7 separate regions of the Homo sapiens genome follow, and regions 1, 2, 3, 5, 6 and 7 are each linked to region 4. Evidence: promoter capture Hi-C in 16 types of primary human blood cells and fetal thymus (Javierre and others, 2016). All regions are on one chromosome and are shown on one strand. Each heading gives the region's core, a stretch centred on a gene start or on the middle of the fragment in contact. The rest is flanking DNA. Distances are from core to core; before and after follow the strand shown. Region 1 overlaps IBTK (inhibitor of Bruton tyrosine kinase). Region 2 has its middle 7.0 kb from the start of SNORD50A. Region 3 overlaps NT5E (5'-nucleotidase ecto). Region 4 holds the start of CYB5R4 (cytochrome b5 reductase 4). Region 5 has its middle 3.3 kb from the start of SYNCRIP. Region 6 holds the start of NT5E (5'-nucleotidase ecto). Region 7 has its middle 3.9 kb from the start of IBTK.

What was found. The method cuts DNA at HindIII sites, captures the fragments that hold promoters and counts their contacts. A CHiCAGO score of 5 or more calls a contact.
Region 1: a contact is called between a fragment that was not itself captured here and the fragment with the promoter of CYB5R4 in region 4, in 1 of 17 cell types (total CD4 T cells). The highest score is 7.2, in total CD4 T cells.
Region 2: a contact is called between a fragment that was not itself captured here and the fragment with the promoter of CYB5R4 in region 4, in 1 of 17 cell types (naive CD4 T cells). The highest score is 6.3, in naive CD4 T cells.
Region 3: a fragment that was not itself captured here is called in contact with the fragment with the promoter of CYB5R4 in region 4 in 1 of 17 cell types (naive CD8 T cells); the score reaches 7.5 in naive CD8 T cells.
Region 5: a contact is called between a fragment that was not itself captured here and the fragment with the promoter of CYB5R4 in region 4, in 9 of 17 cell types (total CD8 T cells, naive CD8 T cells, fetal thymus and 6 more). The highest score is 12.0, in total CD8 T cells.
Region 6: the fragment with the promoter of NT5E here is called in contact with the fragment with the promoter of CYB5R4 in region 4 in 2 of 17 cell types (naive CD8 T cells and naive B cells); the score reaches 9.0 in naive CD8 T cells.
Region 7: a fragment that was not itself captured here is called in contact with the fragment with the promoter of CYB5R4 in region 4 in 4 of 17 cell types (total CD4 T cells, total CD8 T cells, non-activated CD4 T cells and 1 more); the score reaches 7.2 in total CD4 T cells.

The regions. Positions count from the first base shown.
Region 1 is chr6:82,232,146-82,236,320 of GRCh38, reverse strand. IBTK (inhibitor of Bruton tyrosine kinase) reads left to right here. Exons shown (of 29, transcript NM_015525.4): 3 at 2,066-2,162. Among named protein-coding and RNA genes, the nearest start is that of IBTK, 14 kb to the left of the region's middle. The HindIII fragment of the contact is 6,415 bases long and covers 1-4,175 here.
Region 2 is chr6:85,668,294-85,672,450 of GRCh38, reverse strand. No RefSeq gene overlaps it. Among named protein-coding and RNA genes, the nearest start is that of SNORD50A, 7.0 kb to the left of the region's middle. RefSeq lists a silencer at 254-454 and an enhancer at 2,720-3,241. The HindIII fragment of the contact is 8,939 bases long and covers 1-4,157 here.
Region 3 is chr6:85,465,512-85,469,530 of GRCh38, reverse strand. NT5E (5'-nucleotidase ecto) reads right to left here. Exons shown (of 9, transcript NM_002526.4): 2 at 2,249-2,471. Among named protein-coding and RNA genes, the nearest start is that of NT5E, 17 kb to the right of the region's middle. RefSeq lists an enhancer at 3,698-3,787. The HindIII fragment of the contact is 5,061 bases long and covers 1-4,019 here.
Region 4 is chr6:83,857,490-83,861,133 of GRCh38, reverse strand. CYB5R4 (cytochrome b5 reductase 4) reads right to left here and starts at 1,445. Exons shown (of 16, transcript NM_016230.4): 1 at 1,277-1,445. The coding sequence starts at 1,351. The region is part of intron 3 of RIPPLY2-CYB5R4 (RIPPLY2-CYB5R4 readthrough); the gene reads right to left. It overlaps RIPPLY2 (ripply transcriptional repressor 2), which reads right to left. Exons shown (of 4, transcript NM_001009994.3): 4 at 3,619-3,644. RefSeq lists a silencer at 1,325-1,374. The HindIII fragment of the contact is 3,476 bases long and covers 240-3,644 here.
Region 5 is chr6:85,644,097-85,648,256 of GRCh38, reverse strand. No RefSeq gene overlaps it. Among named protein-coding and RNA genes, the nearest start is that of SYNCRIP, 3.3 kb to the right of the region's middle. The HindIII fragment of the contact is 2,050 bases long and covers 1,695-3,744 here.
Region 6 is chr6:85,448,521-85,452,621 of GRCh38, reverse strand. It overlaps NT5E (5'-nucleotidase ecto), which reads right to left and starts at 2,539. Exons shown (of 9, transcript NM_002526.4): 1 at 2,144-2,539. The coding sequence starts at 2,482. RefSeq lists a silencer at 2,477-2,746. The HindIII fragment of the contact is 6,289 bases long and covers 1-4,101 here.
Region 7 is chr6:82,249,743-82,253,630 of GRCh38, reverse strand. No RefSeq gene overlaps it. Among named protein-coding and RNA genes, the nearest start is that of IBTK, 3.9 kb to the right of the region's middle. The HindIII fragment of the contact is 4,001 bases long and covers 410-3,888 here.

The sequences.
Region 1 (4,175 bases), core at 428-2,927, 1.6 Mb after region 4:
TTTGAGTGCCTGATATGTGCCAGGCAGTAATCCAGGTGCTAGGGATATTGCAGTGAACAAGACAGAATCCCTTCTTTGTTTAAGTTTTTATTCTACTAGGGGGAGATAGACCAAAACCAAAACCAAGCAATTAAATTAATGAACAATGGCCGGGCATGGTGGCTCACAACTGTAATTCCAGCACTTTGGGAGGCCAAGGCGGGCAGATCACCTGAGGTCAGGAGTTCGAAACCAGCCTGGGCAACATGGCAAAACCTCATCTCTACTAAAAATACAAAAAGTAGCTGGGCGTGGTGGCACATGCCTGTAATCCCAGCTACGGGGGAGGCTGCGGCAGGAGAATCGCTTGAACCCAGGAGATGGAGGTTGCAGTGAGCCGAGGTCACGCCATTGCACTCCAGCCTGGGTGACAGAGCAAGACTCCGTCTCAAAAAAACCAAAAAAAACAATAACAACAAAAATTAATGAACAAATAGGAACATGCTTGATAAATATTGATGTATTAGAGTTATTTTTGCCTGCAACTGGAACCAACTATGGTAACATAAACAAAATATATTGAAGGGATATCAGATACCTCGCAGAATAAACAGGTCATCAACAATTAACTGTCAAATTATAAATAAGAAAAAATTCCTCAAACTAAAATAGAGTAAGTATAAACTAAATAAACTGATTTGAAATTTTATGTCTCTCCTTCTCCAGATAATTTTTTTTTGTTTTTTTGAGACGGAGTTTCACTCTTGTTGCCCAGGCTGGAGTGCAGTGGCGCGATCTCGGTTCACTGCAACCTCTGTGTCCCGGGTTCAAGTGATTCTTCTGCCTCAGCCTCCCAGGTAGCTGGGATTATAGGCATGCACCACCACACCTGACTAATTTTTGTATTTTTACTACAGATGGGGTTTCAGCATGTTGGCCAGGCTGACGTTGAACTCCTGACCTCAGGCGATTCATCCACCCACCTCCCAAAGTGCTGGGATTATAGTCATGAGCCACTGCGCCCGGCAGAGTGTGGCTCCTCAAATGCAAGAAGAGTTAAATGTTTATGTTCAGATGCACTCCCACACAGACACAAACCCAGAGCTAGGGACTTGTAGGGACAGTGTATTTATGGGGTATTAAAGGGGTATCAGAAATGCTTTATTGTTAAAAATGTTCACATGGCCGGGAACGGTGGCTCACACCTGTAATCCCAGCACTTTGGGAGGCTGAGGCGGGCTGATCACGAGGTCAGGAGTCCGAGGCCAGCCTGGCCAACATGGTGAAACCCCATCTCTACTAAAAATACAAAAATTAGCCGGGTATGGTGGTGGGCACCTGTAATCCCAGCTACTCGGGAGGCTGAGTCAGGAGAATTGTTTGAACCTGGGAGGCGGAGGTTACTGTGAACTGAGATCGTGCCTTTGCACTCCAGCCTGGGCGACAAAGGCGAGATTCCGTCCCCCCTGCAAAAAAAAGTTCACATGTAGTTAATTTTTATTTAAAATGTTAATTTTTTATTTCTTCACATTTTCTGATTCTTCCTTATTCCAGCAAGAGTCGGATATGTGATTTTTCTTAATTATTCTCTGCAGTATGTGAGAGAAAAATGTGTGTGAATATGAGAGATAATCATTATTAAATTTTTTTTCAGTGTATTTATGGGGTTGATTATCTGACTTTTTGATACATAAGAATAGGAAGTCGGCCAGGTGTGGTGGCTCAGCCTGTAATCCCAGCACTTTGGGAGGCCAAAGCAGGTGGATCACCTGAGGTCAGAGGTCGAGACCATCCTGACCAACATGGAGAAACCCTGTCTCTACTAAAAATAGAAAATTAGCCGGGCGTGGTGGTGGATGCCTGTAATCCCAGCTACTTGGGAGGCTGAGGCAAGAGAATTGCTTGAACCTGGGAGGTGGAGGTTGCGGTGAGCCAAGATTGCGCCATTGCATCACTCCAGCCTGGGCAACAAGAGCGAAATTCTGTCTCAAAAAAAAAAAAATAATAATAAAATAGGAAGTTACTGATGATATAGGTAATTAATAATATATATATATTTATGTATTTGTTTGTTTGTTTGTTTTAGCATGGTGTTAGTCTGTATATTCAAGATAAAGAAGGCTTGTCAGCTTTGGATCTTGTAATGAAGGATAGACCAACTCATGTAGTATTCAAGAATACTGGTAAGAAAATTTCACAAATGGGCTGGGCGCTGCGGCTCACACCTGTAATCCCAGCAATTTGGTAGGCTGAGGCAGGCGGATCACTTCAGGTCAGGAGTTCGAGAATACTGGTAAGAAAATTTCACAAATGGGCTGGGCGCTGCGGCTCACACCTGTAATCCCAGCAGTTTGGTAGACCGAGGCAGGCGGATCACTTGAGGTCAGGAGTTCGAGCCTGACCAACATGGTACAACCCCGTCTCTACTAAAAATACAAAAGTTAGCCGGGCATGGTAGCAGGCAATCCTAGTTACAGGCAATCCTAGCTCCTCTAGGCAATCTTAGAGGCTGAGGCAGGAGTATTGCTTGAACCTGGGAGGTGGAGGTTGCAGTGAGTTGAGATCTTGCCACTGCACTCCAGCCTGGGTGATAGAGCTAGACTTCGTCTCAAAAAAAAAAAAAAAAAAAACTTTACAAATGTATTCCATTAAGGTGCAGCTTAGCTTAGAAAATTTTAATGAAATTTTATTCTTCTTAAAGTAGTGGGGAAATTTATTTGTGTGTGGCTATCTGCAAAGAAATTTTACTTTGGTATATGTTGGATATTTTTTGTTTCATATTCAGAACAATTTTATTTTGCATTTTAAAATTTCAATCCATATTTATGTCTATATAAAAGTACAATCTAAAATGGGAGGACTGTTATAATTGTAACTACTGTAAAGTAATTGATATATACTCAGAAAGTAACATCAGCATTGAGGTAGAAGGAAAAAGGAATGTAAATTTTTATTCCTTTTGTTATTTTTGAGATAGGGTCTCTGGAAATTATCATTATTTTTGTGGTTGTTGTTGAGATAGGGTCTCGCTTTGTCAGTCAGGCTGGAGTGCAGTGGCAAGAACACGGCTCATTGCAGCTTCAACCTTCTGAGCTTAAGCCATCCTCTCACTTCAGCCCTCCAAGTAGCTGGGAATATAGACCCATGCCACCATGCCCAATTAATTTTTTTTTTTTTTTTTTTTTTGAGACAGTTTCGCTCTTGTTGCCCAGGCTGGCGTGCAATGGCGCGATCTTGGCTCACCGCAACCTCCGCCTCCCGGGTTCAAGCTGAGAGGCTCTCTTCTCTCAGCCTCCTGAGTAGCTGGGATTACAGGCATGAGCCACCATGACCAGCTAATTTTGTATTTTTAGTAGAGATGCAGTTTCTTCATGTTGGTCAGGTTGGTCTCGAACTCCTGACCTCAGGTGATCCGTCTGCCTCGGTCTCCCAAAGTGCTGGGATTACAGGCATGAACCACTGCGTGCGGCCAATTTTTATACTTTTTTTATAGAGGTGAGGTTTTGCCACGTTGACCAGGGTAATCTGGAACTCCTGAACTCCAGTGATCCTCCCTCCTCGGCCTCTCAAAGTGCTGGGATTACAGGCGTGAGCCACTGTGCCCGGCTCCAATTATTTTTTTATTCACACATTCTCAGTTTCACTTATCCCTCCAGTTTGTTTGCTCTTTGAGATTTGGAAGTGGGAATTGGCAGAAAAGAAAAGATTTAATTGGGGCACTGTATAGTTTGCATTTAACTAGTAAGCAAGCTGAGTAAGGACACATTCTGTATTTCTATTTCTACCCTGGATACTGCATTGCAGGTTAACAGTGATAATTCCATTCTAAGACTTTATTCATCTTCTAAAATAAAAATGAAGATTTATATCATGAACTTAGCTGTGATTTGTATTCCAGTTTAATGGGCTTTACCCTAATCACTAGTGTGATTTTGTGTCTATGAAAAACAAAGTATTGAAAGTTAGTGTTCCTGTACAAAGAGTAATATCACATTTGCAACATTTAGAACCTTTGTATGTGTGGATTAATAATATCTTACATTTGATACAGTTCTATATATTATTTTCATGGAAACTAAGTAGATATGGCCGGTGGTGTTTTACTCATTTGGCAGTTAAACTTTAGCTGCTAAAGAAACAAGAAACAGCCTGGGCAGAGTGGCTTATGCCTGTAATCCTAGCACTTTGGGGGGCCG
Region 2 (4,157 bases), core at 707-3,206, 1.8 Mb before region 4:
TTATCATCATTAATTATTTTAGAGACAGGTTCTCACTCTGTCACCCAGGCTGGAATGCAGTGGCCTAATCATAGCTCACTGCCACCTTGAACTCTTGGGCTCAAGGGATCCTCCCACTCAGCCTCCCAAATAACCAGGAGATCCTCTAGCATGTGCCACCAAGCTCAGCTGATTTGTATTACTTTTTATAGGGATGGGGTGTCACTATGTTTCCCAGGCTGCTCTTAAACTCCTGACCTCAAGTGATCCTTCCACCTTGGCCTCCAAAAGTGCTGAGATTACAAATGTGAGTCTCCTCACCAAGATGCTTTTTTTTTTTTTTTTAAGCAGTGAAATGAGAGCTCACTGTGTAGCCCAAGCTGGTCTTGAACTCCAGACCTCAAGTGGTCTTCCTGCCTCAGCCTCCTGAGTAGCTGGGATTATTGATGTGAGTGGCCACACCTATACCAAATAATTTTAATCAACCACTTTTTTTTTTTTTTTTAAGACAGAGTCGTGCTCTGTCGCCAGGCTGGAGTGCAGTGGTGCCATCTCAGCTCACTGCAACCTCTGCCTCCCGGGTTCAAGTGATTCTCCTGCCTCAGCCTCCTGAGTAGCTGGGACTACAGGCGCATGCCACTACGCCCAACTAATTTTTGTATTTTTAGTAGAGACAGGGTTTCACCATGTTGGCCAGGATGGTCTTGATCTCTTGACCTCGTGATCTGCCCACCTCAGGCTCCCAAAGTGTTGGGATTACAGGCGTGAGCCACCGCACCCGGCCCTAACCTGTACTTTTGTATAAAAGTAGTTGATTAAGGCCGGGCACGGTGGTTCACACCTGTAATCCCAGCACTTTGGGAGGCCAAGGTGGGCAGATCACTTGAGGTCAGGAGTTCGAGACCAACTTGGCCAACATGGTGAAACCCCGTCTCTACTAAAAACACAAAAATTAGTCGGGTGTGGTGGCACGCACCTGTAATCCCAGCTACTTGGGAGGCTGAAGCAGGAGAATTGCTTGAACCCAGGAGGCAGATGTTGCAGTGAGCCAAGATTGTGCCACTGGACTCCAGCCTGGGTGACAGAGCAAGACTCCGTCTCAAAAAACAAAATAAATAACAAAAGTACAGTTTGGGAATTGTTGCTAATAGTTGATTAGTTTAATTGCTTCAATGAGAACATAAAGCATTAAACACAGTAAACTACTCTGGAGCAATAGTAAGGTGTACTCCTTGAGATACATCGTAATTCTGACTTGAATTTCATTGCTGATGGAGATTCTGAGTTTATGTTACATTTCTTTTTCGAAAGTGAATGTACACTGACTAGCCCTTAAAAAAAAGAAAAAAAGCAGCCGGGCGTGGTGGCACACGCCTGTAATCCCAGCACTTTGGGAGGCCAAGGCGGGCATTATCACTTGAGGTCAGGAGTTCAAGACCAGCTTGGCCAACATGGTGAAACCCCATCTCTACTAAAAATACAAAAATTAGTCTGGCTTGATGGTACACACCTGTAATCCCAGCTACTCCGGAGGCTGAGGCAGGAGAATCGCTTGAGCCCAGGAGTTGAAGACCAGCCTAGGCACAGCAAGACCCCATCTCAAGAGAAAGAAAGAGAGAGAGAGAGAAAGGGAGGAAGGGAGAGAAAAAGAGAAAGGAAGGAAGAGAGGGAAGGAGGGAAGGAGGGAGGGAGGGACACAAACATTGTTCTGAGTTTGGCCTCATGCCCAGAAACGTCAGGATAGTTTTGAAATTCATGGACTTGTCCCCACATATTGATGTAGCTCACTTTCTTGAAGGATATTGCTTGCTTTCAATTCAATCTGTTCCTCAGGAGATTGAACCATACTGATAGACTAAGTGTGTGATGATTCAGAAATATACCAAGGTTTGCATTCATTTGTTCATTGAGCAAATATCCTGAATGCCTACCATGTATAGGTACTATCCTAGGCACTAAAGATACAGTAGTGAACCAAACAAAAACCTCTGCCCTTGTGGAGCTTACATTGTAGGAAGAGGAGAAGGACATTATATAATAAATAAATTATAAGCTATGTTAAAAAATGAGAAATGACACAGAAAAAATAGAATATGAGACATTGGGAGTGGGTTTGGGGAGATAATTAGTGTTGCAGTTTCAAATGGGGATTCTCTCATCTGAGAGGCAATTGAAGTAAATGGGGTTGACAGAATAGGCTTCAATGAAAAGTTGAGATTAATTAAGCAGAGATTTAGATATGTGCATAGCTCAATCTCTCACCTAACAGAGGGTGAGAGATTGATCTGTGCATATATCTGGGAAAAGGGCATTTCCATAGCAGTGGCCCATAGGAAGGAGCATGCATAGTGAGAAAGGAAGCAAGGCCTGCAGCTTATGTAGGGCTTAATGGGTCATTGAAAGGATTTCATTCTTAGTCAAATGGGAACCACTGTGAAAGAAAACACAGAAACTCCAAGTATGATTCATACACATCAAAATCTATGAACCCTACCCCTAGGGCCCAGATTGTGGCCTCTAAATACCACTTACCACTAAAAGGAAACAGATCTGAGACAGGAAATGTACAAGATGAGCTTGTTGTACGTTGCTATAACAGGTAGCAAGACTGCTGGAGTTGTGTTAGAAGAACTCAGGAGGCCAAGCACGGTGGCTCACGCCTGTAATCCCAGCAAGGATTACAAAACAGGCAGATCACTTCAGGTCAGGAGTTTGAGACCAGCCTGGCCAACGTGGTGAAACCCCATCTCTACTAAAAATACAAAAATTAGCTGGGCATGGCGACGGGTGCCTGTAATCCCAGCTACTCAGGAGGCTGAGACAGGAGAATTGCTTGAACCCGGGAAGCGGAGGTTGCAGTGAGCTGAGATCTCGCCACTGCACTCCAGCCTGGGTGACAGAGGGAGATCCATCTCAAAAAAAAAAGGAACTCAGGAGTAAACTTGGAGAGTCTCTCACTTTCCAAAGATAGAAAATTTGACTATTATTGAGGTGTAATAGAGAAAAAATAGAGAAAAAGACATGTCTTCAAATCTATGAATTCAGAATGATACTTTAAAAAACTGAATTTAATATAAGTGTTAAAGGATGCTAATCATCAGTTTCAGAACTGCAAATAAAGGGACTTTCCAATACCAACTGTACTGACATAACCAAATAAAAGGTGATAAAAAGTTTGTCTTTATTGATATATTCCAGTTAACAATGAAAAAAGATTGGCATAATTAGAAGATCATCATTTTGCAACATTCTAATGAATTAATGTATAGGCAATAAATATCAATGACTGCTAACATCCAAAAAAGAGGTGATAAGATATTATATGTCCCTGAAGAAAGAATTTGCCTCTGCCTATTTCAGACTCTTGTCTGAAAACAACAAAAATGAATATGAATTTGATAAAGCCTCTGGATATAATTACTAATTTATAGATTACAAAGACATATGTTAAACTACATTACAAAGATACAATCAGCAAAATCCAGACTATGGAAAACTCTACAAATGATTTCTATAACAAATAAATTGCAAGGAAAGAAACCAACCAAACGAGATGAATGGGTAACCTACAAATCAAGAAACTGAAAAGATATATCAACATTCTCAATGTTTGCATCCCAGTTGGATTCTCATTCAATATTGTTTTAAAAAATGAATTTATGAGATATATGTTTAAACACAGGCTATTTCATGTATTAAAAAATAATTGGGACTTTGTTAGATGTGATAATGGCATTGTGGCTCTTTTTGTTGTTCAAGAGGCTGTATCTTTTAGACAAATATACTGAGTTATTTATGGATGAAATGATTTGATGTCTGAGATTTGTTGCAAAATAATACAGAAAACAAAGGAAGTGGTTGAAGGGTAGAGATGAAACAAGATTAGCCTGAAGTTGATAATTGTTAATGTTGGATGATGGGCTCTTTGGAGTTTATTATACTCTTTCTCTATTTTTGTACATGTTTGAAATTTATAGAATAAAATTTTTTTAATCTGTGAATTTTTTAAGTTGATTTAATTTCTAACAAAAGATATTGTGTTTCTTCATAATTTGGTTTTATTGTGTTGTGGCTAGTGCTGTAACAGAACAGGGCCGTTTCCTGCTGCCAGAAACGTAGCCCACCTGTCCATATAGATATATAATGTCTTCATGATTCCACAGTGCTCTCATATGTTC
Region 3 (4,019 bases), core at 795-3,294, 1.6 Mb before region 4:
TCCCCTCCTGCTTAATTCTTCTCCACAGCCTTAGCACCTTCTGACATACCAAACCATTTACTCATTTATTGATTCCCCCACTGAATATGTAAGCTCCAGTGGGCAACTTTTTTTTTTTTGGTCAGTATCCCTGGTGCCTAAAACAGTGCCTGGCACACAGACAGGTACCCAGGGGAATGACTAAATGTCGAGAGTATGCTACCATCTTTTGCTTAAGGTATGGCTGCCAAGAAGGAAAAAAAATTCAGAGAAATGCCTCTGAGGACAAAGGAATGTATTCCTCTATTATATCAGAAACCTCACAGGACCAGGCATCCCATATATACAAAGCATGGCTTATATTTCAAGATGTCATGAGGAGAGTTGTATTTCAGGTATTTAATGATCTAGCTAAAATAAATTAGATTAAATGTGCTAGAAATACAGGTTATAACCCTGTGGGTGCCCAGGCCACTAGGACTGGGAGAACTGGGCTTGATTAGGGTCAAAGAACTGTAGGAAGAACCCACACCAGGCCGCTGGGCCTGTAGTCTTGGAAGAAGCAGTGCTCCTGGAAACATTCTATTCCACCCCATCCCTTTCCCCCCACACTGGGCCCTGCAAAATGCAGCCCTCTCTTCCAGCAGCTGCTGGAAACAGCAGTGTCACTTTTGATCCCCTCTCTGTTACAGCCTGGTAAAGGGCTGGTCAGAGTCCCAGCTGGGGCAGTTTGATTTCTGGAGCTGCTGTGCCTTTCCACCAAGACCTGCACCTCCTACCTCCTTATGGGTGCCTTTTAAAGAAGAGACAATGCTTTCCTCCAAATCACACCTGAACTTCTCAGCCCTACAATCTAGCCCTGATCCAACTTTCTAGCTTTTCCTAGTCAGAACCCATGCTCCAGGAAATGGAACTATCTGCTGTTCTGTGACTGTGGCCCCTATACCTTCCTGCTCTCATGTATTCATCCCAGCAATGCTTCCTGAGGACTTATCATATGCCAGGCACTGTGCACAGTCATTGGGCAATAGTGAGACAGCAGAGGTTTCTGTCCTCATGGAGCCTGCATCCTAGCTTGTGACTCTGACCTCACTTCTGGAATGTCCTGTGCCCCAGGGATGTTTTACACAGCTCTCAAGGGGACCAAGGAGGTTCTTCAGCAAGTAAACCTGACCCCAGGGTGGGGTTGGGGGGTTCTTTAGCAAGTTCTCTCACTCTTCTCACTGACCACTCCAGCCCCAGCCGCTCCACCCTGCCTCCAGCTCTGCCTCTATGCCAGCTGCAGGACCCGCTTGCTGCTCTCAGCAAACACAGCTGACTTTTCTGTTGTTGTTTCCAATGGCCTGGACTTATTTATTTTATAACAACAACAACAGTAAATATATATTTTTGAATTGTCAATTATATGTCCTTTATCAGTTAGTTCTTAATGAAAACTCATGTTTCTAGATAACCCTGGCTCCTATTTTCCCTTTTTTTCTTCAAATATGGAAACACATTTAATTTGGATAATTTAAAGAAAATGTCATTTTTGTTCTCATTGCCAAAATATTCCAAAAAGTTTTCTTATAAAAGTGCCTCAAAATAGTTTCTTGAAGGGTCTTAAGATTATATATGTGTGTGTGTCTTATATGTATGTATGTATATGTGTCATATATGTATGTGTGTGTCTTAAGATTATATATATTATATATACATATGTGTATATATGTCTATAAATGTATATACATACACTTATATATATCCATATATATCATAAGACCACTATATATATTTCCCAGAAAGTCAGATACAAGAATGTCATTAAAACGAGATGAATAATGAAAAGCGAGAAAGGTGAGTTAGCTGGACATGTAATAATCATCCTAGAAAAGGAGCAATAAGGTAAATTGAGGTAAAACTCTGGCTCTGTGCTCATGGCTCCACAGGAGAAGGGCAGTGAGTTTTGAGGCTCTCATTCTCTAGTAAATGAAACTGTACTGTTTAGCACTGGCTATACATTGTCTCCTCTTCCCATTTTGAAAGCACTGAATTAGACAAAGATACTGTTTTTGTCAACAAAGAAGTTCACTGAGCAGAAGAGGACATCTCTTTAAGAAGTACCTTGGAACAACAGCATAGAATTTACCAGATTGCTTTTATCAGTGTTATTCTAGTGCACTATTTACCCAGTTGTTCCTACTTTTATCTACAGTCCATAAATATAATGCCAAGCTGTGATTTAGGGCATCTATTTTCAAGCATTGAGTGCTATAAAAGTAGAAAATACCTGGATTTGAGAGAAAAGGGGTTTCTTTGGAAGTGTATCCAACGATTCCCACAACTTCATCACCAACAGGAAGAACTTTATATGGCAAATAAAGTCCTGATATTTGAGATGCTAGTGGCCCCTTTGCTTTAATGTTTGCACTCAGAATTGGAAATTTGGCCTCTTTGAGGAGTGGCTCGATCAGTCCTTCCACACCATTATCAAATTCATGATTTCCCAGTGCCTAGATAAAACAGAAAAGAGAAAAAGAATTAGGTGCTTTAAAAACATAACATTAGTCCAGTATTTCTCAAAACTGACTAAGCTCTATGAGACATATTGCATGATTTTGTGTCCTCCTCACCTGGGTCAGGCCCAGGGACATTCAGATCATCACATTGCTTGAGAATTGCTACCCAGGTGTCACACCACCTAATAAAGGTGGTTTGCCAATGTGCATACGCAACACCTGGAGAGCTGGCCAGGGGTCCACTGTCCCACCATCTCAGATTGGGGGCAGGTTTGAATGTTCACATTTACCAGCCTCTGCCCAATTTTTCCATGTTGTTTTTCTCTCATAAACCCACATTTCAGACCCCATGATTCAAGCCGCGATCTGCTGGAGAGAATGATTAACATCAGCAGGACTTTAGCAAAAGGCAACCTGAAATGTATGGTTGGCAGAGACCAAAGGCCTCCTTCCTCATTTCACCTCCTAGGTCATCATTCACCTAGGTTGCCACAATTGCTTCTTCCCAAGCACTCCTGTGGTCCTCTAATTCTTCTGGGAAAATGAAGTTCCTCAATAGCAGGCAGGAGCTAGCATCTCCATATGTTCCAGTGTGGCTCTGGCTTCCTCCTCCAGTCAGCTCTGGGCACCCTTTGCTCCAGTCCCAGCAGTTTCACATCTGGGGAAGAACTCCATGGTGAAATGATTAGGTGACCTTCAGCGGGTTCTGTACCTGCTCCCAGCGCAGGGCTTCAGGAGGAGCAGGGATGGTGACAAGCAATCCTTGTTTCCCACCTTCTTATCTCTCTCCCATTCCTCACTGGTTGAGGAGTGGCTGCTGGGTACAAAACCACCCATTGTCTGTCATTTTGCAGCTCCCCGTAGTGAGTTGGGGGCTGGGGGGGAGTGGAGGGAATCCATGCAGAGGCCCCACTGACAAAGCATGACATGTCAGCTGGCTTCCCAGAAAACCTTCCTCTCCTTCCTCCATTGGCCTCCTGGATACACCCATCTCCTTGGGCCCCCTACCCTACCTGCTCTGGCTGCCAAGGCTGGTTTGCTAACTTAGTACTTAAACCAGCAAATCTCAGACTTGCTAAATACCACATCCAGTTTCGTTTCACTTTGTGGGTCATCTAGGAACAGGCATGAAGTACTGGCTGGTGACCCGTCCATTTAAATGAGGGCCTGTGCACTCTCTTACAGCCTCACCCTCTTCCTTCCTTGCTCATTCCATACTCTGTAATGGCATGTTAGCAGGATCTTTCTTTTATATCAGTCTCCTGACTATATGAGTGCTCCTGGGCCACCAGGCCCTGCCACCTCTCCTGCTCAGTGCTGTCCCCCTCCTTGGCACGCAGGCATTCACTGAGTACCTGTGCCTGCAAGGGTTGTGTATACATCCTCATGTGAATGTGTTTGTGCAGAGAAAGCACAATGTGTTTATATTCCTACATACTTGTCTCCCCTATTAAATTCAGAATTTCTAAATTTGCCTTTTCCCCCATCTCTGATGATCTCATTTTTACCTCTTCCTGTTATCTAATTAACTTTCCTCTTAAA
Region 4 (3,644 bases), core at 196-2,695:
AGTAACTCATATTCTAATTCAGAGATTCTTTCTGGAAAGACTGTTATTCAGTCAAGTATTTAGCTTCAAGAAATAGGTCAAAAACCAATGAGAAAAATATACATGATTGGATGGCTAGATGATTGATATATGAATCAGTAAATGAAATTTCACAGCAGAACCACAACACAAGCCTACGCAATTTAGGGCAATATTTCTTAGCCAGTTTCCTTTTCTGCGAAATAGAGACAATAAAAGCTTTCACTTCAAAGGATAATTGTGAAAATTAAAGTTAATACATGCAAAGCACTGAGAATATACACGGCCACCCGTAAGTACTTAAGAAATCTCTGGAAAGCTAATGAAAACCACAGATCCCTGAACCTATATTCATTCTGAACTAGAATCAGAACGCCAGGTCTAAGTGGAGAAAAATAAGAAAATCGATAAGGGTTCCAAACGATGCTAAGACTCAAGAGTTAACCGAGTGGCCCAAGTTAAGTGGAAGTGTCACAAACGAAAGATAAAGATATGGTTACAGAATGAGGAACTAACAAATAGGAACAAACAACATTCGCAAAAGAACAAAGAACACAATTTTTATTGAATTCTGCAAATATAAAATATATCTGTACAGTATTCCACCTGTTGCTAACAGCAACTGTGCTCAACAAGAACTCAAGAGTATTATTATATTTGCTTCGAAGTTAGCAAGTGATACTAGTAGAAAAGGCAATGACAAAACAATCAGGTACCAGAGGAAGAAAGAAAGGCAGTATGTCTTGGATAGTGTCTGTAAACCTGACCTAGCTCCCCAACTCCAGAAGTCCCCATCCTTGCACGGACGGTCACTGTCGCCACTGCCAAGCCTTTCCCTCCTGCGAGGGAACCCACATCGAGTGATGTGGTACAACTCCTTCAGGCAGTGAAGAACAAAAGACCAGGGAGAAGATGAGGTTGAGGGAAGGCGGCTAATACCGAGAGCCTATAATACCGCAAACACAGTGCCTGGCTCTGTCATATAAATTTAAATCGCGGGAAAGGACTTGGAGGAAGGGAACGGATAGAGCGGGATAAAGGACCAGAAAGAAGAGGGACTGCTAGGGGAAAGGGAGGAGGTAAGGAGAGTTTAGGGACTGTAGACAAAGTGGGATCAGAAAGAGGTTGCAGGCAAGGACAGCAGGGAACGACAGCTTAGAGAGGGGTGCAGGAGCTGGGAGTTGGGGCGGAAGAAGAGAACACACTGCCAGAGCTCGAAACGCAGCGAGGGGAGAGACTCACGGAGCCACCCGCTTACCTTGCTACGCCCCCCGGAGGCGACACGCTGCTGCGACCTGGGGGCCGGGAAAGACTGGGAAGGGACGTTCAGCATCTTCAAACCCCGGCCCCGGGCCCTGCCCGGGGATCGCCGCCAGACGGGACAGCACCTCCAGCTCCGGCTCTGTGGCCGGGCAGAGGCCAAGCCCCCGACCCACTTCCGGGGTCGCCAGGGGTGAGGCGCATTCTGACGCAGCACGTCCGCGGAGGGCGGAGCCAACGGGACGGAGGGAGGGCCGGCAGGGAGGAAGTACGCATGCTCAGCTAGTTCCGCATCCCGAACTTCAGCACCGGAGCAAGGTGACAGCTATTTCGTGGAAAGATTAGAGAGTGAAGCTGTTCCTTAGCCTTGGTGCTGACCGAATGTGGGAACAAATTCTTAGTCCTGTTAACCCGGAACAGCAATGTCTGTTCATTGTTAAGCAGTACCATCACACTACTTGAAATATGGACTAAAACACACTACTTGAAATATGGACTAAAACGAATTTTAGTTTCTCTGAAATTCTTTCCTGTAAGGCACTAGGCTGTAATGCAAAGAGCATCTCACACCTTTAAGAGCAAAAATATCAAATGTCAACAGCCACTACTGTGGGGTAAGAAGAAAACCTCACCTTTAATCATCCTTAAACTTCACCTTTAAGCATGCTGAGGGCTAATGAATGCGCGAAAGACGTTAGTAAAGTCACCTTCTGCTCTATTCACCCACTCACAAATTCTCCCTCCTTATGTAACTTCCTGTCTTCACTGGGAATTGTGTACTGATGCAGCTCACCTCCAGCTGTGGTGATGAAGTAACGTTTAAAAGTCAGATTTGGTTTGCATGCCATCCCTGCACTTAATGACTGAGCTGTCTTATGCAAGTTACTTTAGTATCTCAAAGTCTCATTTTCCCCATCTGCATAATGGGTTTATTAAAGATTAAAGGATCATGTGTAAACTACATACTGCAGTGCCTGATTAATATTAGGTACTGAATAAGTGGCAGTGGCTGTTTGTGCTATTCCAACATATTAATGGGAAAAGGACCAACACTGTGCAGGTAAACACCAGGCTCTAATGCTCAAAATCTGATGGTTTTTGTTTGTTTGATTGATTGTTTTGTGTGTCCCTTGGGGAACACATAGATCTTGAGAGTAGAATCCAATAAGGGAGAAAGTTTTCAGGAGAAGAAACATAGTTCTAAATAATCCTCCCCATCCTCCTTTAATTACTAATTTTTCCTAACTCTGAACATATTGTCATGCTTTAAACTTTCTCTGTTTAACTACTTAGTTCTTAAAGTGCCTAAAAAATCAAGGTTATGTTTGCAGAATCAGAAGAAAAAGTGTGTGACTATATGTGGCCATTCAAATACAAGCATTCAAATAAGGTAGCCACCTATGACATTCACCTCTATCCATTTTTATTTGCAATTGAAATGCTTATTATGAGAAGACTGAATTTGAGCTAAAAGAACCTCATGACTATAATTAACTGTATTACTTTGACTTTGCAAATTGCTTCTGTGTTCTCTCTCATTAAATGATGACATATTCTTCTAGAGTCTACACAAGAAAAACTAATCACTGAGATTTATTTCACTTCTCGTGAGAAAACTTTTACATAAGAATATCAAAAGCAGAGAACCAGAGCAAGGAAAAGTTAATATTGTTGAAGAATGTTCCATGCTTTCCAAATTTCTTAGCTCCCCTTTGTACAGAAATGGAAGATGCTATCAACTTCTGGCCTTTAGACTCCACTTTTTTAGACTCCATATCAATCACTCAAATTTAAACGTTTTGTTTTAATTCTAGGGATCCCTCAATGTAGTACATTAAGTATTAAACATCCATACTATTTTACTACTGGATTTAAGGACTGAAGAGGAGTATTAAAATATGAGTTACTTTGCTCATCATTTATTTAAAATATCTATAATTTAAAAGCCCTAAGATTGATTCCCTTTTTCAATTACAGGTAATGATTTAATGTGTTTTTCTCCATCTGCTAAGAAATCTTTACTAATAAATGAGTGATTTCTAACATAAGTCTATTTTCTTCATTATCTAATAAGATAACATTGATATGTAACTACAACATCCAACTGGCATCAGTAGGAAATAGCAGATGTTAAAAGATTCAGTCTTGAGAATTAAATACTGTCATTCTTTGCAAAATTATAACTAAATATAAATGTGCAATTTAACGAAAAGAAAAATGTATTCTTTGTAAGCCCCAAATATTTATAATACAATCAAGACATTTGTAGATGGCACCTGTTTTAGATTCCAACATTCAATTCTAGTGTAGGGATAAAGAAAAGGCCAAATACCAGAATAATTACAAAATATTTCATTTTATTAATA
Region 5 (4,160 bases), core at 1,470-3,969, 1.8 Mb before region 4:
TCCCCTCAGACTTTGGTAACTATCACTCTGTTCTCTACCTTCACGAGATGAACTTTTTAAACTCCCACATATGAATGAGAACATATGATATTTCTCTTTCTGTGTCTGGCTTATTTCACTTAGCATAACGGTCTCCAGATTCCATTTATCTTGCTGCAAATGACAGAATTTCGTTCTTTTTTATGTCTGAATAATATTCCATTGTGATATATACCACATTTTCTGTTATCCATTCATCCATCAATGAACACTTGGGTTAATTTCATATCTTGGCTATTTTCTCACTGTTTTAATTTGCAAGTCCCTGATGACATATGATATTCAGCATGTTTTCATATGCTTATTTACCATTTGTACATCCTCTTTGGTGGGCTATGTGTTTAGATTTTTTGCCCATTAAATTTTTTTTTTTGCCAGGCATGGTGGCTCATGCTTTTAATCCCAGCATTTTGGGAGGCTGAGGCGGGTGGATCACTGAGGTCAGGAGTTCTAGACCAGCCTGTCCAAAATGGTGAAACTCTGTCTCTACTGAAAATACAAAAATTAGCCAGACCTGGTGGCAGAAGCCTGTAATCCCAGCTACTCAGGAGGCTGAGGCACGAGAATTGCTTGAACCCAGGAGGTGGAGGTTGCAGTGAGCCAAGATTATGCCACTGCATGCCAGCCTGGGTGACAGAGCAAGACTCCTTCTCAAAACAAAACAAAACAAAACAAAAAAAACAAAACATTTTTTTTTTGTTTTTTATTTGCCTAACACTTGATATCAACGTTTTTGCCAATTTTTCAATTAGGTTGTGTGTTTTCTTATTGTTGAGTTTTAAGAATTCTTTGTATATTTTATTGAATAACAGCCTTTTATCAGATATGTGTTTTGCAAAGATTATTTTTTTTCCCTAGTCTGCGGCTTGTCTTTTCATTCTCTAGACAGTGTCTTTCTTGGAACAAAAGTTTTTAATTTTTGATAGGGCAGGCTTTTTATTACTATGAAAATAAGATGTGAGAGATAGTGCCGCCGGGCGCGGTGGCTCACGCCTATAATCCCAGCACTTTGGGAGGCTGCGACGGGCGGATCATGAGGTCAGGAGATTGAGACCATCCTGGCTAACACGGTGAAACCCCGTCTCTACTAAAAATACAAAAAAATTAGCTGGGCGTGGTGGCGGGCACCTGTAGTCCCAGCTACTCCGGAGGCTGAGGCAGGAGAATGGCGTGAACCTGGGAGGCGGAGCTTGCAGTGAGCCGAGATTGCACCACCGTACTCTAGCCTGGGCAACAGAGCAAGACTCCATCTCAAAAAAAAAGATGTGAGAGATAGTGCAAAAATTTTCTTGATTACTAGAAAGATTAGGTTGAATGGCTTCCATGGTCTCTTTCAACACTAGCTTTTTATGGTTCTATGGAAAAAGTAATGGTGTGCTGTGAATTTTTACCCTGTGAATTGAAGGGTTCCCTGGCCCATTATAAAATTAATATATGTTAATGGCAGGAAGTTTAGAAAATGCAGTAAAGAAGAGAAGAAAATATGCAAAAAACAAAACAAAACAAACAAACAAACAAAAAACAGTGTGGCAGTGTGGCATTGACTGGGTGGAAGAATTTTGGATAAGTAAAAAATCCAAACAGGCCTGCCTACATTCCTCTCTTTCATTAGTTGCCAACTCAACAGGGCTGCATCTTCTCACTGTTTCAAAGCTTACATGGACGAAAAGACAGCAATGAAACTAATGAATACTCTGTCGGGAGCAGTGGGTCACGCCTGTAATCCCAGCACTTTGGGAGGCCGAGGAGGGTGGATTACCTGAGGTCAGGAGTTCGAGACCAGCCTGGCCAACATGGTGAAACTCTGTCTCTACTAAAAACACAAAAATTAGCTTGGTGTGGTGGTGGGTGCTTGTAATCCCAGCTACTCGTGAGGCTGAGGCAGGAGACTCGCTTGAATCCAGGAGGTGGAGGTTGCAGTGTGCTGAGATCCCGCCACTGCACTCCAGCCCGGGCAACAGTGTGAGACTCCGTCTCAAAAACAAAAAACCAAAAAACGAGCCCTGGCGCAGTGGCTCACGCCTGTAATCCCAGCACTTTGGGAGGCTGAGGCGGGCTGATCATGAGGTCAGGAGTTCGAGACCAGCCTGGCAAACATAGTGAAACTCCCAACTCTACTAAAAATACAAAAGAATTAGCCGGCCATGGTGGCGGGCGCCTGTAATCCCAGGTATTTGGGAGGCTGAGGCAAGGAGAATCACTTGAACCTGGGAGGCGGAGGTTGCAGTGAGCCGAGATCACGTACTGCATTCCAGCCCGGGCGACAGTGCGAGACTCCGTCTCAAATAAAAAGAAATGCCAGAATCAAGGGAAGGCCAGGCTGAAGCCATAAAGTGGCTGAGATGAGCTGGGGAGACAGGTGGGACAGATCTTAGAGAGCTTTGTTGATCTAGTTAAGGATTTTGGCTGTTGTTCTAAGTGTAATTGGAAGCTAATGAAGGGTTTTAAGCAGACACGCCATAGGATCTTACTTGCAATTAAGATAGAGAAGGTCAAGGGAGGGAGAGAGCCTACACAGGAGACAGAGAGTCATACAGAAAGACAGATGACTTGGGCTTTGAACAGATTAGGACAGCTGTAAGAGTGGATGAATCAGGAGGCTATGCCATTAGTACAGGTGGTAGATGATGGTGGCTTTGCCTGGGTGGTTGCAACATAGAGATAAATGGAGATATATTTGGGAGACAGAATTGATAGGACTTGATTAACTGATATGGCAGTGTAGAGAAGGAAGTGCCTTGAATGATCCGCTCCAGCAATTCATGTGGGGGATGTTAATTGAGATGGGAACTCTGTAGACGGAAGACTGGGGGAAGATCACGTGCTCAGTTTCTTGAAATGCCCATCTGGAGTGCCAGAAAGCCCACATAAACATTGAGGGCGTGGCTAGAGAAAGGAATTAGATGTCAGAGAACAGCTAGAGATTTTAATTTGGGAGCTTTGCCCAGGTTAAGGCACTTTAAAAAATTTTTTTTAATACCCAGGAAGGTCTAAACAAAGTGTTACATGTTTCAGACTCATTTTTATTCTTTTTTTTTTTGAGACGGAGTCTCGCTCTGTCGTCCTGGCTGGAGTGCAGTGGCGCGATCTCCGCTCACTGCAAGCTCCGCCTCCCGGGTTAACGCCATTCTCCTGCCTCAGCCTCCAGGGTAGCTGGGACTACAGGCGCCCGCCACCACGCCTGGCTAATTTTTTTGTATTTTTAGTAGAGACGGGGTTTCACCGTGTTAGCCAGGATGGTCTCGATCTCCTGACCTTGTGATCCGCCCGCCTCGGCCTTCCAAAGTGCTGGGATTACAGGCGTGAGCCACCGCGCCCGGCCAATTTTTATTCTTGTTTAATCCATGGTATGACTCTTATTTTCATAGTTTTCTATTAAACATTTTGTTTTTCATGTATATCATTAACCACGACCTCTGCATTGTGAACAAAAATCCCTATGGCTGAAGCAGCTGAATATCACATATGTTTGATAGTAAGGAATCTGGGGTGGTGGAGATCTCAAATCCTTACTAAACAGGTTGGCTATGTGGTGCTTTGGCTAAAACATACTTCATATCTGATCCAAGTAGCTATGAAAATAATCTAGCATTTTATGTGCTTGTGCACTTTGAAGAGTGTTTATCTAACTTTTCCTCAAACCACTGATTTGTTATCATAGCACAGAGCTCATCTGGGGAACCAGTAAGCTCTTAAAAATAAGCTTTTTAATCAAAAGGACATTGTTTCTATTTTTCATTACAGCTGCCCTGGATAAAATTAGTATCCATATCGCGTCTGTAATTCAAATGCCTTTGTCTTGTCTTTCTTGTACCTAGTAAACGATTATAAAGGAAACGTCATTTCACAGAAGATTTAGTTGCCAAGGTTTTTTTTAAAAGAAACACAGACATTTTTCTCAAAGTTGTTCTAACCACGCAGCTTTGTGCTGTTTCAAGTTGCTCAAACTGTGCCAGGAGGAAGCCCTTAACTGCTTAAAAGGCCAGGGACTGAAACGGAGTATTGCACAACCCTTCACCACCGGGCGGTTTCGCTTCCAAATCTGGCCTTCGTGTCATCCCAAGGCAGGAGCCGCTCCTCGCTCCACTGGAGCCAGCCCCGTTCCCCCTTCAAAAGCAGCC
Region 6 (4,101 bases), core at 1,290-3,789, 1.6 Mb before region 4:
GACACAGCCATCTAACCTTGCCATGTGATCCGCTCCCAATCTTTACCCCCTGCCAACATTACGTAAGTAGCCTATTTTTCCTCAGAACCCAATTCAATTTTCTTGAGCAAAATTTGAAAGAAAGTAATTTCATCCAACAAAAAGGATTCTGAACAAACACAGAAGAGATAGGCTGTAACTTACAGCAGTTTACTCAGGCCTCACCTAGATGTCCTGTCATAAACATTTGATACCATGATTAACACCAGGAGCTCAACTAGACTTACAAGAGGGAAATATTATTAGGGAAAACTAGGAATTCTTCATTCTTATTTTTCCACTAAAAAGGGTTCACACAATTGTGGAGAAAAGAGTGTCACAAAAAGTAAAGTTTACAAAGTCGTGGTTTATATGCAAAATAAAACAAACACATGTAAGTTTATTCTACCCTTCTGGGAGGAAGTGGAGACACAGGGTAGCAACAACTCAATTCTACAAATATTTATTTTGTCATTACTGAGTGCAAAGTATCAGGGAAGTGTAGCTGTGGAATACCAATGCTTAAGAGACCACAGAGTTCTTGAAACCCACGATTCTTCTTCAAATCCAGATGTGTGTGAGCCCCACCTCATCAACTCTGAAGGCTGAAGGATCAGCTGGAATTTCTGCTGCAGGGTGTCCCTGATAAGCTCAAAAGCATCAGAACGGAGGGAGCTTTCTCCCCTTCTCTCATCTCATTAAAATGAGCTTTCTTGTTGTGGGGGGTTGGGGAGGGACCTTTAAAACCAAACAATGGTGCCCTCTTATCATCTTTTCCTGTCCTCCTTTCTCCAAGTTTCCAGAGGGGAAAATAAAACCAAACAAACCCCTCAGCATTGTGCTCTCCTGACCTCTAAGCTCTTCTCATATAAAGTGTACTGTTAGCCTTCTGTATCCCAGCCTAATCACACTTCCCTTTCCCTTCCACACTTGTGGACTTCACAGATTTCTCTGGACGTTTCTCTGGAGATTTCTCAGTTCTTCCTCTTCCAAAGCTCTTTTTTCTTCTCCCAAGTTTCTCCACAGTCTTGCTGAATCCCTTTACTCAAGGCTTTTACACAGGGTTAAATTTGGGTGGTGGTTTTATTTTTTTTTTAACCACCATATATACATCTTGGTTGTACTTATTTATTACTGTGCAACCACCTCTGCTCCCTTTCTAGAATTTAGTGCAATAGAAAAGGCATTACCTTTAACCTAACATTTGGGACTTTGAACTAAACTTTTGCACATGTTTTAAGAGCCCATTATCTCTTAAGTTGGACTCTTCCTAAATCTCTGCCGCCAAACCTACTTTATTGAAATCCTTTGAAACCCAAGTCTTTCCACATTTTGGCTCTCTCTGAAGTTTCTTTCTTTCTTTCTCTTTCTTTCTTTCTTTCCTTTTCTTAACCCTATATTATAGTGTCTGGTAATAACAACATATATAGACACCACACTATGTGTCTGGTAATAATATAGAGACCACACTATGTGCACTATGTACAATTATAATCCTTATTTTTATACAGGATAGAACTGAGGCAAGAAAGAGTAAATAACTTGCTCAAGGTCACATAGAAGGTAATTGAACAGAGAATCTACCCCAAAGCTGTGAGCTTAATTACTCTCAAGCTCCGGGGTCAAAGAGATCTGGTGTCCATTCTTATCACGTCTCCCTTTTTGCGGGGATGGTGCCTGTTAATTTATTCAGCTTCTTCGACGCGGTTTCCCTTTCAATAAGATTGAGATAAAGCATTTTTCGAAAGATCTAGATTGAGATAAAGCATTCTTTGAAAGATCTAGCAGTAAATGAGAGCTGCGTGAGGGATCCGATTCAGTCCCTAGCTCTGGATAACTGTCAGTGCTTCTACGCACCCCACCTTAAGCCCCTCGCAGGCAGGACTGGGTCCTGCTCCTCTAAATACTCCCATCTCATAGTGGGGGCGCAATAACGTCCGTTTAAGACGAATCGTCCAAGGGACTTCTATGCATCCAGCTGGCACACTGGCCGGAGTCTCACTTTATCCCCACATCTCTCCGCGCCCTGGACCTAGGCTTGCCACACTCTGCCATCCGCTGCTTTTCCAGCCCGGCTCCTCTCTCAGTCCGGGACTACTATCCCGGGCGCGGGCTCGGGTCTTACCATGGCATCGTAGCGCAGGGCGTTCATGAAGTGCGCCACCTCGGCGCCCTTGTACACGGTGAACCAGATAGTGCCCTGGTACTGGTCGCCGGCGTCCAGCAGCAGCACGTTGGGTTCGGCGCGGCGGATCTGCTGAACCTTGGTGAAGAGCCGAGCCACGCCACCCATGCAGCGGCTGGCGTTGACGCACTTGCTGGAGTCCTCGCTGGTCTGCTCCAGCCGGCTGTGCACGTCGTTGGTGTGCAAAATCGTAAGCTCCCAGGCGCCAGCCGCAGGCCACAGCACCGCGCCCAGGGCGAGGAGTAGCGTCGCGGGCGCCCGCGCGGCTCGGGGACACATAGCTGTGGCGCGTGAACTGGGTGCGAAAGCGGGCGAGCCGGGCGAGTGCCGGCGAGTAGGGGCGAGCAGCTAGGGCCGGGGCTCGGTGCCCCGGCTGGAGGGGCGGGGCCCGGGTCAAGGCCGGGGCGGGTCCTTCTTCAGCCTGGAGGCCGGCTTGGCGGCCAGGCGCAAGTTCGCGACGTCACCCGATCCGACCCTGGTACCCGGAGCGGCCCTGGCGCGGCTGTCGGCTGGCACCAGCTCCCTGCAGGAAGAGTGGAGAGGTTGTTCCCGGCGGGGAGCGGGTACCGGCCGCATCCCGGCCGGACCAGGGAGCCTGGGCGCCGGCAGTTCGGCTGCTGGTGCGCCGCTCTTTCGGGGGCGCGAGGAAGGAATTGGAGGGGTCCGCCCCGCGCCTGGGTCCTCTCTGAGTCTCGCCTCATTCGAGGCACGGGTTTTTCTACAAAAGGAATGTATGGTTTGTGGTTGCGCTAGCTCATCACTTCAAAGAACCAAAGAAGGAAAAGAGAGGGGGCGGGAAGAAAGATGAGCGAGCTGAGGGGCAGAGAGGAGGAGTAAAGAGAGGCCGGGCAGAGGAGCTCCTTGCAGTTTCGGGCTGTGAGAGCCGAAGCTCACTGAGATGTGACGCTTCCTGTTGGGTTGAGAACGCACGAAGTCTACGATGCTTAGACAAAAAAATCTCAGAAACTAAGAAATCATTCGAATCCAGTTCCTTGTTTATTCACAATTAAAACCTTAGTGATAAAACAGAGGCGACGCGCGGACAGCTCCTGGAAGCAGAAACACGATTGGGGTAAAATCCGGCAGCTATCAGGACGGGAAGGGATGCTGCCCTTCTTTGCTTTTCTGGTCTTATTTTATTTTATTTTATTTTTATTTTGTCGCGTGTGCTTTCGGTGTCGCAGTGAAGTCATAGCCAAATACAATGTTAGGAAGATTTTCCTCTATGTTTTCTCCTAAGAGTTTTATAATTTAAACTCTTAGACCTTTAATCCATTTTGAGTTAATTTTCATATGTGGTATGAGTCCACATTTACTCTTTTTCATGTGGATATCCAGTTTTCTTAGTACCATTTGTTGAAAAGACATTCTGTGCCCGTTTTTAAGACATTGACCTGAGGTTCGGAGATTGTAAATCATTTGCCAAGAAAGGCCATGCAGTTTGGGAGCAGCAGTGCCTGGGGCTACAGAAGACCCTTGCTTCTGGGACACCCTCTAATGTCATGCTTTGCAAGGTTTTGCTCTGTCCCTCTTTGAGCACCTGCTAGAAGCAGGTAAAAGAACTGGTAGTTTTGCTGTTTTAACTTAAAAAAAGAATGATTTTAGACTTACAGAAAAGTTGCAAAGGTAATAAAGGGAGTTCCCACATACCCATCACCCATATTGCCTTATGTTAACAGCTTATATAACCAATGAAACTAAAAACTTAACAGTGATACGAAACTATTAACTGTGTTACTGATTTTATTTTAATTTCACCAACTGTTCCACTAATGTCCGTTTTCTATTCCAGGACCCAATTCAGGATACCATATTGCAGTTAGTTTTCCTGTGTTCTTAGCCTCCTCTAATCTGTGACAGTTTCTCAGTCAGTTGTCTTCAAAAACCTTGACACTTTT
Region 7 (3,888 bases), core at 1,161-3,660, 1.6 Mb after region 4:
CTCATTGCAACCTCTGCCTCCCGGATTCAAGCGATTCTCCTGCCTCAGCCTCCCGAGTAGCTGGGATTACAGGCTTTTGCCACCATGCCTGGCTAATTTTGTATTTTTAGTAGAGACGGAGTTTCTCCATGGTGGTGAGGCTGGTCTCGAACTCCCGACATCAGGTGATCCGCCTGCCTCGGCCTCCCAAAGTGCTGGGATTACAGACGTGAGCCACTGCGCCTGGCCTACTGGTTTATTAAAAAGGATATTGCAAAGGATACAGATGAAGAGACGCGTAGGGTGAGGTATGAGGGAAGGGACGTGGAGTTTCCATGCCCTCCCTGTGTGTGCCACCCTCCAGGAATTTCCATGTGTTCACCTATCTGGAAGCTCATGAACTCTGTCCTCTTGGATTTTTATGGAAGCTTCAGGACATCAGCATTCCTTCCCGCAGGGTATAGGGTGGGACTCTCTCGTGGGAGGGTCTTAAGACCCAGAGTCAGAAAGGTGCGGAAACTATGGAAGAAGGGCAGGAGAAGGTCAGAGGCCTGTTCCTGAGGTCTAACATACCCAACTTTATAACAAATGACTGTAACAAGGGCTATGGGAGTTATGAGCCAAGAGCTGTGGATGAAAACCTATATATATATCACAACACCACAGGCTGTTACTTTTTCCCAATCTAGCCTCTTATCCACTTTTCAAGGACTCTTCATAAGTTCTGGACCTTCAATGGCCAAGGTTCTTGTTTTCCAATGCACTGATAAGTTTAAGTATGTTAAGTATGTTTTCTTTTCTTTTTTTTTTTTTTGAGACAGAGTTTTGCTCTTGTCGCCCAGGCTGCAGTACAGTGGTGTGATCTTGGCTCATTGCAACCTCCATCTCCCTGGTTGAAGTGATTCTCCTGCCTCAACCTCCCGAGTAGCTGGGATTATAGGTGTCTGCCACCATGCCCGGCTAATTTTTGTATTTTTAATAGAGATGGGGTTGTACCATGTTGGCCAGGCTGGTCTCAAACTCCTGACCTTAGGTGATCTGCCTGCCTTGGCCTCCCAAAATGCTAGGATTACAGGTGTGAGCCCCCACACCCGGCCTAAGTATGTCTTTTCTATCAGTCCTAGGGATTTATGGCATGAAGAGAAGGCTCCAACCACTATGTATCAAACTCACTCTTTTTCTTTCTTCTCTCTCTCTCTTTCTAATAGTGACAACACAGATTTAATTATTTAGCTAAGTAGAAAAGGAATAGGAGCAATTCTCAGTAAGATGGGCTGAGAAAGGCAAATGATACATTTTTCAGTCATCGTAAAGGGAAGACTTTTAGGAGTTCAGTGTTCTGATTGTAATAGAATACTAAGCCTGTTAAGTTTATAAGTTTGATTTATCTCAAAGTTCTGCTTATTTCATCTAGGCTTTGAATTTACCTTGAATTTCTCCAGTATTTGCCTTGAATTTCAGATTTTTTTGGTGGACTATGCTTTTAAACATAAGATTCTAAAGTTACATTCAAATACTGCCACCTTGTGGGTTATTCTTTGTTTCCCCATCCCACCCTTTAATTTGGTGGAAACAGATTCATCCAGGCAGTTCATTTCAGGTTATGTCAATTAAGTTGCTAAGAGTTGTACTAAGAGCTTCATATATATAATATATACATTATATTATATATATATATAAAATCTCATTTAAACTTCTTAAGAACTTTATGAAAGCAATACTATTAACCCTATTTCAGAGATGAGGAAACTAGGCTTAGAGGGTTTATGTAACTTGCCTGACATCTCACAGATAGTAAGCATAGGAGTAAAACTTTATATCTGGGCACCTTGCCTCTAGAATCCTTGTCTCCAGGAGTAAAACTAACAAATCTAAAAATAAAACAGTGTGATACATTATATGACTAAGTGATAGAAGCAGTATAAAGGGAATAATTGCTAGGAAAGGCCATCCGGAAAGTCTTCACAGATATGTGGGGAGGTGACCCTCTGTAAGTAAGGATTGGAAAGATAATGATTCTATAGGAAGAACGCAGCTGGGACCATACACCTGAATCCAGAAGAACACAAACACCCTATGTGGCCTATTGTTTTGTCTGCCTCACCCTGCTTTCTTTTGGGGAACTACTCTTCACTCTGCTTTAACCATGACTCTAATAGAGGATGTCAATCATGTTATCCTTGATTCCTCACCTAATCCAAGCCGACATGAGTCCGTCAGGTGCCTAGAACTTTTGTGCTTGAGATAATAGGCTCAGTGCTATCTTCCCTAATGGCAAACCTGAGGTGAGATATGTGATTTATGTGAGGTACTTAATTTGTGTGCCAGAAAGTTGTAGTCAACCAGTGATGTCCTGTAGAAGATGGTGTGGAGTAGAAGAGAATGAGGCTAAACAATAAGGTTCCAGTCATCTCTAGGCCAGCTGCACTATTGATCTTCCTCTAAAAATCATTCTTGTAGAACCTAATCAGGTTTGGGTTTCTAATCAAATTCTAGTGTTTTCTCTTCTGCCACCAGCACTGTCATTTCCTACTCCTATACAACTTGAAAGACAGCAAAATACACATAATGATGTCAGTACTTTTAATTATAAAGGATAGTACTACCAATTTATTTTGGAAAAATGGTATTTAGGGAGTTTATTATAGATGCCATGTGGCTTAGAAATATTTCTGCAGTGCTCCACTCTTGATGCCTGTACTATTCTTTTTCTACTCCCTCCGCCCATCACTGCAATCTTTTTATTTATTTATTTATTTATTGAGACAGAGTCTCGCTCTTTCACCCAGGCCGGAGTGCAGTGGCGCTATCTTGGCCCACTGCAATCTCCACCTCCCAGGTTCACGCCATTCTCCTGCCTCAGCCTCCCGAGTAGCTGGGACTACAGGTGCCCGCCACTGCGCCCGGCTAATTTTTTTTGTATTCTTTAGTAGAGATGGGGTTTCACCGTGTTAGCCAGGATGGTCTCGATCTGCTGACCTCGTGATCTGCCTGCCTCGGCCTCCTGGGATTACAGGCATGAGCCACTGTGCCTGGCCCATCACTGCAATCTTTTAAAGTCATCTCTGGTTTTTTTATTTTTTACTTTAAAAAATAAAACTACTTTAGAAACTCTAGTCAATTATTTTTCCAAACTTTGATTTTTTTAATCATTCAAGTAATATTTAAATTATTGCAATGAAAATTACAAAAGTCAAAATGATAGAAATTAAGAATCACCCATAATCCCACCATAGAAACAATCATTGTAGATATATTTTGACCTATTCTTTCATGTGTAAACACAAAATTTTTTTAAAAATCAAACAAAATGGCTCATTTTGATTTCTTCCTCCCTTAACCACATCTACAATATATTTTTCATTTAATTGTATTTCATTTGTACTATTTCCTAATTATTTTAATATTTTGTCTTGCAAATAACCAGTAAGTACTTTTGAAAGCATCTAACTTTCCTGGGAAAAGGGGAGCAATTCTACATTCCTTTGACTGGAATGTTATTTCTTTCCTGCTTCATCTACTTATCTCCTCGTTATCTAGTTATCTGAGTTATCTTCTGCTCAGTCTTTAGTTCATGTGTCACATCTTTTGGAAGTCAGATAAATCTATCAGATTAATACTTATAAACGTTGCAATTTATTATGCTTGGGAATATCTGGGTCTACATGTATTTTTGTTCACTGTTGGATCCCCAATGCTTACCACAAATTGTCCGAGACCTGGTAATTTTAACTTTTATTTATTACTATTTTTTGAGACAGGATCTCACTCCGGTTGCCTAGGCTGGAGTGCAGTGGCGTTATCTTGACTCGTTGCAGCGGCGTGATCTTGACTCACTGCAGCCTTGATCTCCTAGGGCTCAGGGTATTCTCCCACTTCAGCTTCCTGAGTAGCTGGAATCACAGGCGT